2 separate regions of the Homo sapiens genome follow, and region 1 is linked to region 2. Evidence: promoter capture Hi-C in 16 types of primary human blood cells and fetal thymus (Javierre and others, 2016). All regions are on one chromosome and are shown on one strand. Each heading gives the region's core, a stretch centred on a gene start or on the middle of the fragment in contact. The rest is flanking DNA. Distances are from core to core; before and after follow the strand shown. Region 1 has its middle 69 kb from the start of SPANXN3. Region 2 holds the start of SLITRK4 (SLIT and NTRK like family member 4).

Region 1 (7,006 bases), core at 34-2,533, 190 kb after region 2:
AGATAGTTTTTAAACCTTACAAATCCCTGTGTGTTAAGTTAGGGTTCTCCAGAGGGACTCACAGTCACACAAGGCAAAGTCCTACCATAAGCTGTCTGCAAGCTGGGGAAGAAAGCAGTCAGTAGTGGCTCAGTCCAAGTTTGAAAGCCTCAAAACCATAAAAGCCTACAGTGCAGCCTTCAGTCTGTGGCCAAAGGCCCAAGAGTCCCTGGCAAACCACTGGTGTAAGTCCAAGAGTGCAAAGGCTGAAGAATCTGGAGTCTGATGTTCAAGGGCAGGAGGAGCAGAAGGAAGCATCCAGCATGGGAAAAAAGAAGAAAGCCAGAAGACCCAAGCAAAGTTATCCCACCTTCTTTCCCTGATTTATTTTTTTTCATGCTGGCGGCTGATTGGATGGTGACCACCCAATTCGAGGGTGGGTCTTCCTTTCCCAGTCCCCTAACTCAAATGTCAATCTCTTTTGGCACCCTCATGGGTACACCCAGAAACAGTACCTTACCAGCCATCTAGGCAGCCTTCAATTTAATCAAGTTGACACTAATATTAACCATCATACTGTGCAAAAGTAGCAGCATGTACTTATTGATGACAGTGATTTTTTTTTAATGTCCAAAAGGGACAAAAACTAGAGAGATCAAAGTAATCAAACAAAAAGGATTCTGTTTTGTGCAAGATAACAAGCAATTAAGAGCAAATATTGTTTAAAAGAAAAAATCAAATTTACTTTCTCATTTAGAAGAGGTCATTTCAGTTCTATCACCATAAGTTATACATTAAGTACAAGTTTTCTTAGTACTTTATAACTTAGAACACCGTAGCTTAGAAACATGTACCTTGCTTAAGTCAACTTTCAAATTTTTCTCAGCGATAAGCAAATAGTTTCATTTCGCATGCTAACTCTAAAGACAGCCCTATATTTCCTACTTGAGGGACTATTTCTTGAAGAATTTTGAGCATAAGCTCAGATTCAGTAGGAAAAATTTCATGATCACAGTATAATGTTGGCCATGGATACAGGACTGCAGATTGGCTGATGGTACTTGGGCCAATTTGGGCCACATATTAATATTTCCCTCAGACCACATATTCCTCTTGGCCAAATATCCTTTCATGAGCCACATACCTCCTTTGGTCTATATAGGATACATGTATTCCTTGGGCTTCATATTCCCCATGCTACCTTGATTAAGAATTCCTTGCCTCTTTAGTTTATTTATTCCACAGATGTTTGGGAATAAACTGTCATTTTATTTGATCCCTAGTAAACCTTTTGGCTTCAATTTGTAGATAAAAACAAAGACCTTCTTGAGATGTGAGGGACTTGCTACTTACCCAAGAGTTGTAAATCACTAGCCATTTCAAAGATGAATCTACTCATTATTTCTACCTAAGCCTCAGACCGTGTAGTCTAGTAGTTAAGTCATGGGTTCTGGAATCTGATAGAGTAGGGTTTAGGTTTAATTGTCAGTTACTGATAGAATGACTTTTGGCTAAATTACTCTTCTCCAACCCTCCTTCTTATCTGGAGAGTAGAGATAGTAATTCATACCTTAAAAAGTTGTTTTGATAATTAAATTGAATAATAAACAGAGTTCTTAAACAAATACCTAGCATGTAGTAAGTACTCTATTAATGAAAATAGTAATAACTATTTTATAATCATTTTACAAGGTATAGAAGAAACAGAATAATTTGGACTGCTCTAAGCAGATTATCAAATTATCAAACAAGTCAGAGATCATTAGATTAATAAACTCAATGCTGTATTACTTTCTAAAGTGAATGTAAAACATGAATTTATAATATAAAAACATATTTTATCTATTGCTCTCTTAATTTTTCATATAGATGCTGGGCTAAATAAAATCTGCTTTCATTTCATTATGAAATTATTATGTTCAACATTTACCTTAAGAAGTCAGCCAGATCTTAAATTTGTTTAAAAAACATAGAGGCACTTAAAATTATTATTATTATTATTATTATTGAGATGGAGTCACATTCTGTCACCCAGGCTGGAGTACAGTGGTGTGATCTTAGCCCACTGCAACCTCCGCCTCCTGGGCTCAAGCGATTCTCCTGGTTCAGCCTCCCAAGTAGCTGGGATTATAGGCATCCTCTACCACGCCCAGCTAATTTTTGTATTTTTAGTAGAGATGAGGTTTCACCATGTTGTCCAGGCTGGTCTTGAACTCCTGACCTCAGGTGATCCACCCACCTCAGCCTCCCAAAGTGTTGGGATTACAGGTGTGAGCCACAGTGCCTGGCCCAATGTTTTTTTAAATGTGTCAAGATAAAGCCTTTAGGTAGATCATTTCGGATGAATTGGCTGCTCCTTCATTGAAATTAGTGACTTTCCTTTCTTGTTTTTTCACTTAGAGGACTCATGAACTTGAGATGTTTCCTAATTTATACTTAAAACTACCATGAGAGGTCAACTTGAGCAGGCTTATTTACAGCTGAAGAAAGGAGGTCTTTCCCTCGTTTTACATTCTCTCCTTTATATCTTCAGGGTAACTCTGTAAACAACAAACTCAGCAAATACATTAGTGCTGAAAGAGGGAGTGAGCAAGCTAAAGCTTTGAGAATGCAGGTGACTGATGGTCTACAGATGGGAACTGTAAGTCTGCCAAAGAGGACATTTCATCCATCTCTTGAGGGCCATACTTTAATCTGCCCCTACTGAGAAAATTCTTCTGATTTGGGAGACTTCAAGAGAAAGCTTTTATTTATTTATTTATTTATTTATTCATTTATTTATTTTTCAGTTTCACTTAATAATGCTTCCAAGAATGAAGTGGCTTTTAAAGATAAGAACAGGTACTATTGTAAGAAGAGAGGAAAAGAGCATTTTTTCTATAGAAAACAAGAATAAAAATGAATTTACTATTAGTAATGGGAAGTGTCCAGTCACCTGTTTTGAAGTCAAAGCATCAGTTTCTCATCTGTATGTTGAAGGTAATGGTCATCTGTGCCTCACAGTCTCGTGGATGGAATTGAATAATGTACATAGGAGGCACCTAGTGTCTAGTTATCTGTAACATAGCAGGGGTTCAATAAATGTTAGTATACCTTCCTTGACATCTCATTGGGCAAAATCAAAATGGCAAAATGATCCTTAGGGGGAAAAATCAAAGAAAAAAATCGCATTCAGTTATGGGAAAAAATTAAAGCTGTAAACATTTTCTAAGTAGTTCAACTTGAAAACCTACAGAGGCAAGAGAGCAGAAAATAAAAATGGAACAGCCAAATGATGTGTATTTCAAACAAAATAACGTCCTTAATAAACAGTATCTGTTACAGTCAGGAGGGCTTTCAAAGGTATCACTAGTCTCAATTCTCTGATAGAATTGCTCAGTATTATTTGCAAAAATGTGGGCACACATAGACACACACATCCAGCTGATAGGAAACTATTTCATTAACTCAAATAGACTGTAAATATTTTATTTGAAGTTCCAATCTCTCCCGTGGACCTCCTCCATGATCACACTGCACAGTAGAAGGGTTTTCATGATACCCAGCCATTTGGGGCAGCAGCTACTCCCAGTCTTTAGAGGCTGCTGGATGCCTGGCAGTATAAGAAGAGCTCTGGCCTGATATACAAGAAATACAAGGTATTCATTATACTAGAGGTTAATATTCACAGCCAGGAGGCTTTATATACAATGTAGACACAGAATCTCTGTCTTGCCTTTAGACTAAACAACTGTTTTTTTTGTTTGTTTGTTTTTTTTTCTGCCCTGTGTGTGTTGCAAAACTGCCATAACTACATGGACAGCTACAGAAACCAACATGCAAAACCAAAACAGAAAAAAAATTAAATACATTTCATAAACAACATTCAAAATGAGTCTAATCTAATTAAAATGCTCTACTAATTGACTTAGATATCTACATGGAGACATTGATTGGAGATTTCCTTCTTGTGCTACTTTAGTTGAAACAGAGAGGTCTTGCTTTAGAGAAATCTGCTATACCAATTCCGATTTATAGCTTAGAAAATGGAGTGTTTGTATTTTAAATATTTTTTATCACTATGGAAATCTGCTGTAAAGAATATAGAAGGTTGGGCCAGGTGCAGTGGCTCACGCCTGTAATCCTAGCACTTTGGGAGGCTGAGGCAGGTGGATTGCCTGAGCTCAGAAACCAGCCTGGGCAACAAGATGAAACCCCATCTCTACTAAAATACAAAAAATAAGCTGGGTGTGGCGGCGTCCGCCTGTAGTCCCAGTTACTTGGGAGGTTGAGGCAGGAGAATTGCTTGACCCTGGGAGGCGGAGGTTGCAGTGAGTCGAGATTGTGCCTCTGCACTCCAGCCTGGGCAACAGAGCAAGACTCCATCTCAAAAAAAAAAAAAAAACGAATATAGAAGGTGGTTCTTAATATTCTGTAAGTATTTTACAGTTTCCAATGTGCTTTCTCTGACGTAATATCACTGGATTATTACAGGAATCACATGGGAAAGTAAAGCTAGATTTAATATCTTTTCTATACACGAGGCTTCAGAGGTCTCTGGGTCATTGATTTCATAAATGGTTAAGCCAGGACGAGGGGAGCTCCATCACTTTACTCCCAGTTAAGGGTCATCTTTATTGGACAGTACATTCGGCAAGAATTCAGTTGAATAAATGCAAAGCCAGTGGACTTTTCCAGGAACATATATAGGCATAAAGTCAAGTATGCCTGAATTGTCTATGCTTTATCAGCCCTTAGAAGATAGAGGGGGACCAGGAAGAGCCATTTTATCCATTTGGCATGGAAGGAACAGAATATGGGACCTGTGAGCTTTGCATGAGATTGTGGAAATGGTTGAGACCTAAAAACAAAATTAGCTCCCGAGTGGGAAAAAAAAAAAAAAAAGTAAAAATGAATAAATGTTTGATTGACTCTTTAACATTATGACATGTAGTCACATGCATCTGAAGTCTACCACTGTGCATAGATATTAAGAGATTAATTTAATTATTAAGAAATTAATAAATTTCAGTATATATGGTACAACATGGGATGAAACTTCTAAAAGTTACCATGTCTAGTGCATATTAGGTTCTAAAGTTGTCAAGTTGAAAGAGTTGGGGGTTGGAGTAGAGTCAATGGTAAGTGAAAGGGTACCCTGGGAAAAGTTTATTTCATTTTTTTTTCTTTTTTGCCTGGAGTATATCACGGGTTGTCTTTTTACATGTGTCTTAGCAGCTTGATATACAGCAGGTCAGGCTACTCGAGGGATGGTATTGAAGGTGGGAGCATTAAATGTTATTCAATTATCAACCCATATTCTCTTGAGGCTAGAAGTTGCCAGATTTAGCAAATAAGAATGTAGAACACACAGTTAAATTTGAATAACTGATGAGTAGTGATTTATCATTGGTACTTCAGCATAAGTACACATTTTTTAGTATATGTATACCCCATGCAATATTTGGGACACACTTATGCTAAAATATGCATCGTTTATTAGAATTTCAAATTTAACTAAATGTCTTGTATTTTATCTGACAACCCTACTTGAGGCTTTTTAATCTGATTTACTTATGTTTATACATTTATGATTTGAGAGCCCTAGAGTCATGGCCAGCTTAGATTTGTCACTTAGTTTCTGGTGTATTTTTAATAAGTAGATGTTTAAAGATGACTCAGTTTAAGAGGAATATTGCCCAAAGTGTTAATTTGCTATCTTAACTACCCTTCCCTTGTCCCTATGCACTGCTTACTTAAGCCTAAGAAACTCTAACTCCTCGAATCTGTGAGGAAGGTACATGCATCAATAATGTGCAGATGACAGCAAAAGAAAATATCAGCAGAGGGAACAGATAACCTAAAAACTGGGAGAAAATTTTTGCAATCTATCCATCTGACAAAGGTCTGACATCCAGAGTCTACAAGGAACTTAAACAAAGTTACAAGATAAAAACAAACAACCCCATTAAAAAGTAGGCAAAGGATATCAACAGACACTTTTCAAAAGAAGACATTAATGTGGCCACCAAACATACGAAAAAAAAAGCTGAACATCACTGATCATTAGAAAAATGCAAATTAAAACCAAAATGAGATAATATCTTATGCCAGACAGATGGCAATTATTAAAAAGTTAAGAAACAACAGGTGCTGGTAAGGTTGTGGAGAAAAAGAACACTTTAACACTGTTGGTGGGAATGTAAATTAGTTCAGCCATTGTGGAAGATGGTGTGGTGATTTCTCACAGATTTAGAAGCAGAAGTACTAGTTGACCCAGCAATCTCATTTCTGGGTATGTACCCAAAGGAATATAAATCATTCTATTATAAAGATACATGCACACATATGTTCATTGCAACATTATTCACAATAGCAAAGACATGGAATCAACCCAAATGTCCATCAGTCACAGACTGGATAAAGAAAATGTGGTACATATACACCATGGAATACTATGCAGCCAAAAAAGGGAATGAGATTATGTCCTTGGCAGGGACATGGATAGAACTGGAAGTTGTTATCCTCAGCACACTAATGCAGGAACAGAAAACCAAACACTGCATGTTCTCACTTATAAGTGGGAGCTGAACAATGAAAACACATGTACACATGGGGGGAACAACACACACTGGGGCCTGTAGTTGGGGACAGGGGGAGAGAGAGCATCAGGAATAATAGCTAATTGGTGCTTGGCTTAAAACCTAGGTGACGGGTTGATCTGTGCAGCAAACCACCATGGCACATGTTTACCTGTGTAATAAACCTGCACATCCTGCACATGTACACTGGAGCTTAAAATAAAGGTTGAAGAAAAAAAAAGAAAATGAGAAAATGTGACATTTATATATAAACAATGGAATATTCTTCTGCCATCAAAAAAGAATAAAATCCTGTCATTGGCAGCAACATGGATGGAGCTGGAGGTCATTACATTAAGTGAAATAAGCCAAGCACAGGAAGACAAATTTTGCATGTTTTCACTCACATGTGGCAGCTAAAAATGTGGATCTCATGCAGACAGAGTAGATTGGTGATAACTAGAGTC
Region 2 (7,573 bases), core at 4,848-7,347:
TATTTAAATGTACAATTAAGTTATTATTGACTATAGCCACCCTGTTGTGCTATCAAGTAGTGAGTCTCATCCATTCTTTCAAGTTATTTTTCGATATTATCTCACTCCAGTTAAGATCACTTTTGAAAGAAAGATTTAAGTTTATATTTCTAAGGAAAAGTAATATTGTTATAAAAGCATTGAAAAAAAGACCCTCAATGCTTTTGCAAAACAATAATGTTTTGCTAGCTAGGGACAACACTGTGGTTCCCGAGATAGAGTGGAACACGATAAAAACAGAAAGATTTTTATCAACTTACTATCTCTCTGATAAAGCTTCAGTTGGTGTTATGGAACTTTTACAGCCCATAAGAGTAATTCTCACACTAGACTGTTTAGCTATTAACTTCCTATTTTTTATTTTATGATCTTTATTATCTTTGAGTTGTCTGAGGGCTGTTGAGCTTGTGGCTGGGCCCTAATCTTTGACAGTGAGATTTCTCCAAGTTAGAGAATATATAGAAAAGAGACACTATTTTGTCAGCATCCCTGGCTTAGCAATATTCTAAACCACATAGGTAGTTCTAGTTAGCCATAGGGACAAGTACCCATTAGGGGCCAAAGTTACAAAGACCCTGCAAAACAACATACCCCTCTTTATTATTATTCTAGAAATAATAATTTCTGAGTGAAGTGTTATTTGAAAAATTAGCCAATGCCTTGCTACACAGACTGTAATACATTCACACCTGATGCCTGAGTTTCTGAAAAGGACACCAGGTTACCAGCTGTACTATAAAGAAGTCTGAGCAAAATGGAAGGTCAGGTTAATTGATATAACCTAATCAAATAATCAACTAGTCTCACATTTTCCAATTCATTTGGTATCCTATTTTATAACAATCCTTTTGTCTTAACTGGAATAAGTCTAGGGATGAACACTACTGCTTTGCTTGGTGTGGTGGTTAATAATGAGCGTCAACTTGATTGGATTAAAGGATGCAAAGTATCGATCCTGGATGTGTCTGTGAGGGTGTTGCCAAAGGAGATTAACATTTGAGTCAGGGGGCTGGGAAAGGCAGACCCACCCTTAATGTGGGTGGGCACCATCTAATCAGCTGCCAGGGAATGTAAAGTAGGCAGGAAAATGTAAAAAGGTGAGACTGGCTTAGCCTCCCAGCCTACATCTTCCTCCCATGCTGGATGCTTCCTGCCCTTGAACATCAGACTCCAAGTTCTTTAGCCTTGCGACTCAGACTGGATTCCTTGCTCCTCAGCTTGCAGACAGCCTAATGGGGGACCTTGCGATCATGTGAGTTAATACTACTTAATAAACTCCCATATATATATATATATATATATATATATATATATATATATATATGTATATATAAAATATATAAGTGTGTGTATATATATATGTGTGTGTGTGTGTGTGTGTGTGTGTGTGTGTATATATATTAGTTCTGTCCCTCTAGAGAACACTGACTAATACACATGGCTTCATTTGGTGATAGTGAAAGTGATTATCCCTAATAAGGAACATTTGAGACATCATCACAGATTCAGAATCAACTCAGGTATGAGAGTTGAAAGAGCAGAATGGATAGAACAAGGCTACTACTGGCAAAAGGTAAAATCAGTTGATTCAAGAGACCTTGTCATGCATAATTGATGTGAACTGTTTTTAATGTCATTTATTTGTTTATTCCTGTGCTGAGTATTCATACTTTAATACTTGAAAACATTTATGTCTCAAGTATTCATCTTTGGAAAATTTATTCTGCTTTCAAATCTATCCCTTTCTCTTTTTTTGAGACAGGGTCACTCTGTCGCTCAGGCTAGAGTGCAGTGGCTTGATGATGGCTCACTGCAGCCTTGACCTCCTAAGCTTGAGCGATCCTCCCACCTCAGCCTCCCTAGTACCTGGGACTACAGGTGCACCCCACGATGCCTGGCTATTTTTTTAAATTTATTTTTTAAAGAGATGGCTTTTCACCTTGCTGCCCAGACTGTTTGTCTTGGCATCCCAATGTGCTGAGAATACAGGCGTTAAGTCACCCTGCCCAGCTTTCAAGTCTATTCTGCTTTCAAAGTTAAAAATTCCCTAATCCCCCTGTGAAAACGAAAATGTGGTGTACTGGAAAAACCTCAAAGATCTGGGGTCAAATCTTGACCATCACTTACTCACCATGTGACCTCGGGCAAACTGTTTACCTTCCCTGAATTTTATTTTATTTTATTTTATTTTATTTTATTTTATTTTATTTTGAGAGAGTCTCAGTCTGTTGGCTGGGCTGCAGCGCAGTGGCATGGCCACAGCTGATGGCAGCCTTGACCTCCTGGGCTCAAGTGATCCTCCCGCCTCAGCCTTCCAAGCAGCTGGGGCTACAAGCATGTGCCACCATGCACCACTGATTTTTGTATTTGTTGTAGAGACGATTTTTCCCATGTTGCCCAGGCTGGTTTTGAAATCCTGGGCTCAAGTGATCTCCCCACCTCAGCCTCCCAAAGTGCTGGGATTACAGGAATGGGCCACCATGCCTGGTCACTTAACCTCATTTTTAAAATAAGTATGATAATCCCTTCCTTGTTCATAGAACTAAATGAAATAATATTTGTAGGCAGCACAGCAAAGAAGAGGCACTCAACAGACAGTAGCTACTATTGAATGGGTTAATTATGATCTGAAAACTTCCTTTCATGTTCTAAATTCCAGAAAATTTGTAAAAATGGGCTATTAGTATGTTTTTCAAATTATATAGATAGAAAAAAGGGTTCCATTGTTAAGTAAGTCTGTGAAATGCCACATGCCATATCCCTTTTCCCTTGGTAAATAAAAGCTCATTTAAACATAATTAATTGTGTTGAAAAATCCCAAAGTAAAAATAAAATGTTTAGCTTTACGGAACCAAGGGTCTTTTAAACTTATTTGATCATGGAAACATTTCTTCCCAGAAGATATATTAACATCCTAAGAACTTTCTTGTATTCCACTTAGAGAAATAGCAAGTGTGTGACCGGACACGGTGGCACACGCCTGTAATCCCAGAACTTTAGGAGGCCGAGATGGGCGGATCACCTGAGGTCAGAAGATTGAGAACAGCCTGGACAACATGGTGAAACTCCATCTCTACTAAAAATACAAAAATTAACCGGGCATGGTGGCACATGCCTGTAATCCCAGCCACTCAGGTGGCTGAGGGAGGAGAATTGCTTGAACCCAGGAGGCAGAGGTTGCAGTGAGCCGAGATCACACTAACGCACTCCAGCCTGGGTGACAGAGTGAGACTCTGTCTCAAAAATAAATAAATAAAAATGAAAGAGAAATAGCAAGTTTGTAACTGTTAAAATGCCAGAATATAAATAAATCTTCAATATTAAAATACACTGAATCATCTGTGATACCTGGATACGAAAATTAAGGCTGATTTGATTTTGAGCAGCAGCCTAAGACAAGGCAAGATAAATGAGGAATACAGTGAAAGTGAAAGACCGCTGACTAGGGCCAAGACTTGGCATTATAATCACTTTCGGTTGGTAGTGTTTTAATGACTTAATTCCAAACTGCCTTCGGAACGGAGGGTATACAGGATCTTGTTGAAATTCTTAGTGCAGTTGTTTTTTTCCCTGATGGAGGGAGACACAGTATATCAGTGTAGACCTACGATTCTGGTTGTACTCCTAAAAAGTCAAGATGAAATAAGGTAAAACATTTGGAGGAAGACCGTGAGAGTATTGCAAAACTCACAATATTTGCATGCTTACATTTTAGGAAGAACATCAATTTTGTTTTTCTTTCAATGGCCATAAATAGTGCTGGAGTTTTCTTAACACTTTTATTTATGTATATATTCACTTCCTTTGTTAAGCTAGCAATTCTGTGTCATTTCCTACTGTTCTATTGGGATGTCACCTGTAGTTCTAGGGGACGGAAAAGGGACTGTGGGACTAAAGGATTGGGTTAATTACTTTGAAAGCAAAATAAGCATAAAACATGGAAGTTGTTACTTCTGTTTTATTTTATGAGTGTCCACTTTATCTTTTTAAGTAGCAAAACATTTTATTTTAAAGCATTCATTTAAAAAAGTTGAATATTAATCACAGATAAGTTCTTAGGAATATTATGAATTGTAATTTATCGATGATCTAGCTACAGTGGCTTTCAGATTTGTCTCCATATCCATATGAAAAATAACATTTCACAGTTATTGCAGTTAAATATAGCCAAGTCTCAGAACAGTTTCTAAAGTTGAATAAAGATAGGCATTTAAATCATCTGATATTTACTGTCCAAATCTGGCCTTTTCAGTTATCACATTACTTAGAATTTTCAGGTAAACTTTTTTTGCTCATTCTATTGACTCTTGTTAACATTTGTAGTAAAAGACAAACATTTCACCTATCTGGATAAAATATATTCAGCTTCCTGAATTGTTAGCATTTAGAATAAATGCCAACTTGTTTTGATACCCATTACTACTTTCAAACTGCATTACACAATAAAATGCAAATGTGAGTTATTAATTAGCAGGATCTGTTTTGTCCAAGTGTGCAAGAGTAGAGGGATTTTTCAACATTCTGCAGCTGTTACCTATGAAGGAAACATCATTCACTTTGCTAAAAGGAGCTGCACAATTACATACGCTGTTATAGACAAATATTTTAGTGTTTCCTTAATGCTATTTCATAATGGATTTCACATTGAATAAGATAAATTTTACCAATGCTGCCCAATTTCTGTCTCTAGGTTGTTTGTAAAAGAGAGGATGATTACAGTTTTCAAGGCAATGTGGAGTGAAGGTAGAGAAAGAGTTCTTCATGAACGACACAATATTTAGCAAGGTCATAAAGAAATATGCCCATACACGCATATCTATTTAAGTATTCATTTACATATTGTACGTGCATCTCTGTATACATGTTGTGCCCGGTGAACATTTGTGTGAATATAACCTGACGGAAGTCCCATAAAATGACAAAAAATGAAAAACAATGAAACATGTATATGAATGACTACTATAGATGATACAGAAGGTAGACCATTATTCACAAATAATGTAATAAATCCTTTGCCCATCAGATGTTTCTACCTAGATTTGGGGCCTTTAAACATCAACCAATTATGGTAAATGTTTAACTGTAGGAGTTCAGGCAGACAGCCAAATTCTGGTTTCAAAGCTGTTGCTAGTTTTAGCTTAAAGATTTTTTTTTTCATTTTTAAGCAAGAACATTTCTGGATACCGGTTGTGCTCTATTGTGGCTAGAGCCGCTGGGATTTGAATAAGTAAATTGGGCAACACACTGGTCCTGAAGAAATGGGCCTGGCAGTATTACCTGAATGTGGCAAATAATAGGCTACCAAGAGTCCTAGGGAAATACTTCCCATTTATAACTTAGCTCTACTTACCTAAAGCTAGTTTATTCCCACAGACACGAAGAGAGAGAGAGTTGTTTTTCTTAGCCAAGCTCCTACAAAAAACAGCAAGGTTGGGGGATGGGAGCACATCCAATGTTTATGCCTTTTGTTTAGGAAAGCCAGGTATCTGAAATACATACATGATAGCCAACTCCTCTCTGCTCCCCTCCCCCAGGTTTATTTATTTTCTTAACAAGCTTATTAACGAAATTATCAATTTGCATGAAACTGGTTTGAACATTGGCCCTTCCTCAGAATATTTCTTATCTCTTGTGGAAGCACTAACAAAAAGGGTAGAAGAAGGGGCCTAGACAATCCACACGTTGGATTTGCAGCCACTGGATATTTCAGATTCAGCTGCTAAAGCCTCTTTGGTATACACAATGAGGGGCGACTGAAGTGACTTTTCTTAGTCCATTTCCTCTCCTTCTCCCCGTCTCCCGAAGGTACTCCGTGGGTCCCTTCCCTTTCTCTCTTCACAGTCCCTCCTGAGCAGTCCCAAAGCTTCAAACCTTGTTCTCCAACCCCCTTTCCCTAATGTCTCCCAACTACCACCCCCTTCCCCAGTCAAACTCCCCTCCCGGTCACCACCAAAGCCCGGAGAAGTGGAATGCACACAATGCCTCCCTTATAGGGCTTGAGCTGGGAACTGGGCATGCTCAGTAGCCAAAGTAGTTTTTTTTTTTTTTTTTCTTTTGGTCGCAAGTGCGGCATCTCTCCCAGTCCCACGCCTCTCTTTCCTCAACCCCTATCCCCTATCCCCTATCCCCACCCCCAGCTCCAAGATCATCCGGCTTAACCCATTCTGCACCAAAGGCCCACGGAGTTCTAAGGTGCGGATAATTAACCCGTCTCCTTCTAACCCGGCTAAATAGTCTCACTTTAGGCTAAAGCCTCACACTTTCGCCTTAAAGCCCCTGGCCCCTTACGCGCAGACAGGTAGGGGGAGTGCGAATACTACTGGATCCTAGGAAATTGGTTCCCAAGAAGGCTCCTTCCAGGATCGACCGCCACGGAGAAGTATTCCAGGAGCCCTCCGTTCTGCGGGGTGACAATTAGCCAAAGGTACCGTACCCGTGATACAAAATCCAAGTATGATTGTTGCATTTGAATGTCATTGTTGTTGACTCATTCCCCTCCATCCTGTAATTATTCAATTCCGCGTAGACTCGACGACCCTATCGATCTCCCTCGGCCCCCCTCCCCCAGGCTCTCCAGTGTTTCTTTGGCTTTTCCTGGCTTCTTGGTTGCTCTCTCAAAGGAATGCCCCGTGTGTGTGTGTGTGTGTGTGTGTGTGTGTGTGTGTGTGTGTGTGTGTTCCTTCGTTATTAGGGGACTGGAAGAGAAGAAAAGGGCTCGAGTGTGTGTGTATGTGGTGGGGGGGATGGAGGCGAGTGCGCCCTTGTTAGAGGACTGGGGTCTCCACGCCTGAGGAAAGGGGTCGCTCCTCCCTAGGGAATGTTTTAGGCAAAAAGAGGGGGCGGATGCCGGGAGGAAAGCGCGCTGTCTTTCTGGGTGTGTGGGTAGAAGAGGAATCAAATGGGCATGTCTGGATGGGGGACGGGGGTAGGAGCTCAGGAATGTGAGGGGGTCAAAGTGGTCGAGTGTCGGGAGGAAGGACTGCTTGTGTGCGGGGTGGGGGGGGGTGGTGGAGAGCGGGGGCGGGGATTCAGCGCGTGTATGTAAAGGTGCAGCCCGTGTGCTAGGCGCTGGGTGCGCGCGCGGTGTCTGCTCGGGTGCGCGCGCGCGCCGCTGCCCGCCTGCCCGCCGGCCCGCCTGCTCGCCTGCTGGGGCTGCTCCGTGGGTTTGACGGGCGAGCGGGCGCGGAGGAGCTCTGTCCGGAATCACATAGATACCATCGTGGAAACAGCAGCGCAGGTCACGGCGCCGCGGGCCCTGCACCAGACGCTGGGCTCTAGAGGTGGGTGAATTTTCAGCGGGGGCTGCACAAGCTGCACCGACACGCGTGCTGCCTCTTCCCCGCTCAGCTCAGTAGCGCGTGTGCGTGCGTGTGTGTGTGTGAGAGAGAGACAGAGAGAGAGAGAGAGATCTCGCGCGCGCGCACGCGAGCCGAGGGGGCAGGTAGCTTATTATTTTTAGTTTGGGTCCTGTTGGTTTGGGGCCGGTTGAGTGGCCAAAGTGGCCGAGGTGGCTAATCCTGCCCTCCACCTCCCA

The links. The method cuts DNA at HindIII sites, captures the fragments that hold promoters and counts their contacts. A CHiCAGO score of 5 or more calls a contact.
Region 1: a fragment that was not itself captured here is called in contact with the fragment with the promoter of SLITRK4 in region 2 in 1 of 17 cell types (M2 macrophages); the score reaches 5.2 in M2 macrophages.

The regions. Positions count from the first base shown.
Region 1 is chrX:143,444,693-143,451,698 of GRCh38, reverse strand. No RefSeq gene overlaps it. Among named protein-coding and RNA genes, the nearest start is that of SPANXN3, 69 kb to the left of the region's middle. The HindIII fragment of the contact is 2,597 bases long and covers 1-2,581 here.
Region 2 is chrX:143,634,625-143,642,197 of GRCh38, reverse strand. SLITRK4 (SLIT and NTRK like family member 4) reads left to right here and starts at 6,097. Exons shown (of 2, transcript NM_001184749.3): 1 at 6,097-6,463. The HindIII fragment of the contact is 4,708 bases long and covers 5,905-7,573 here.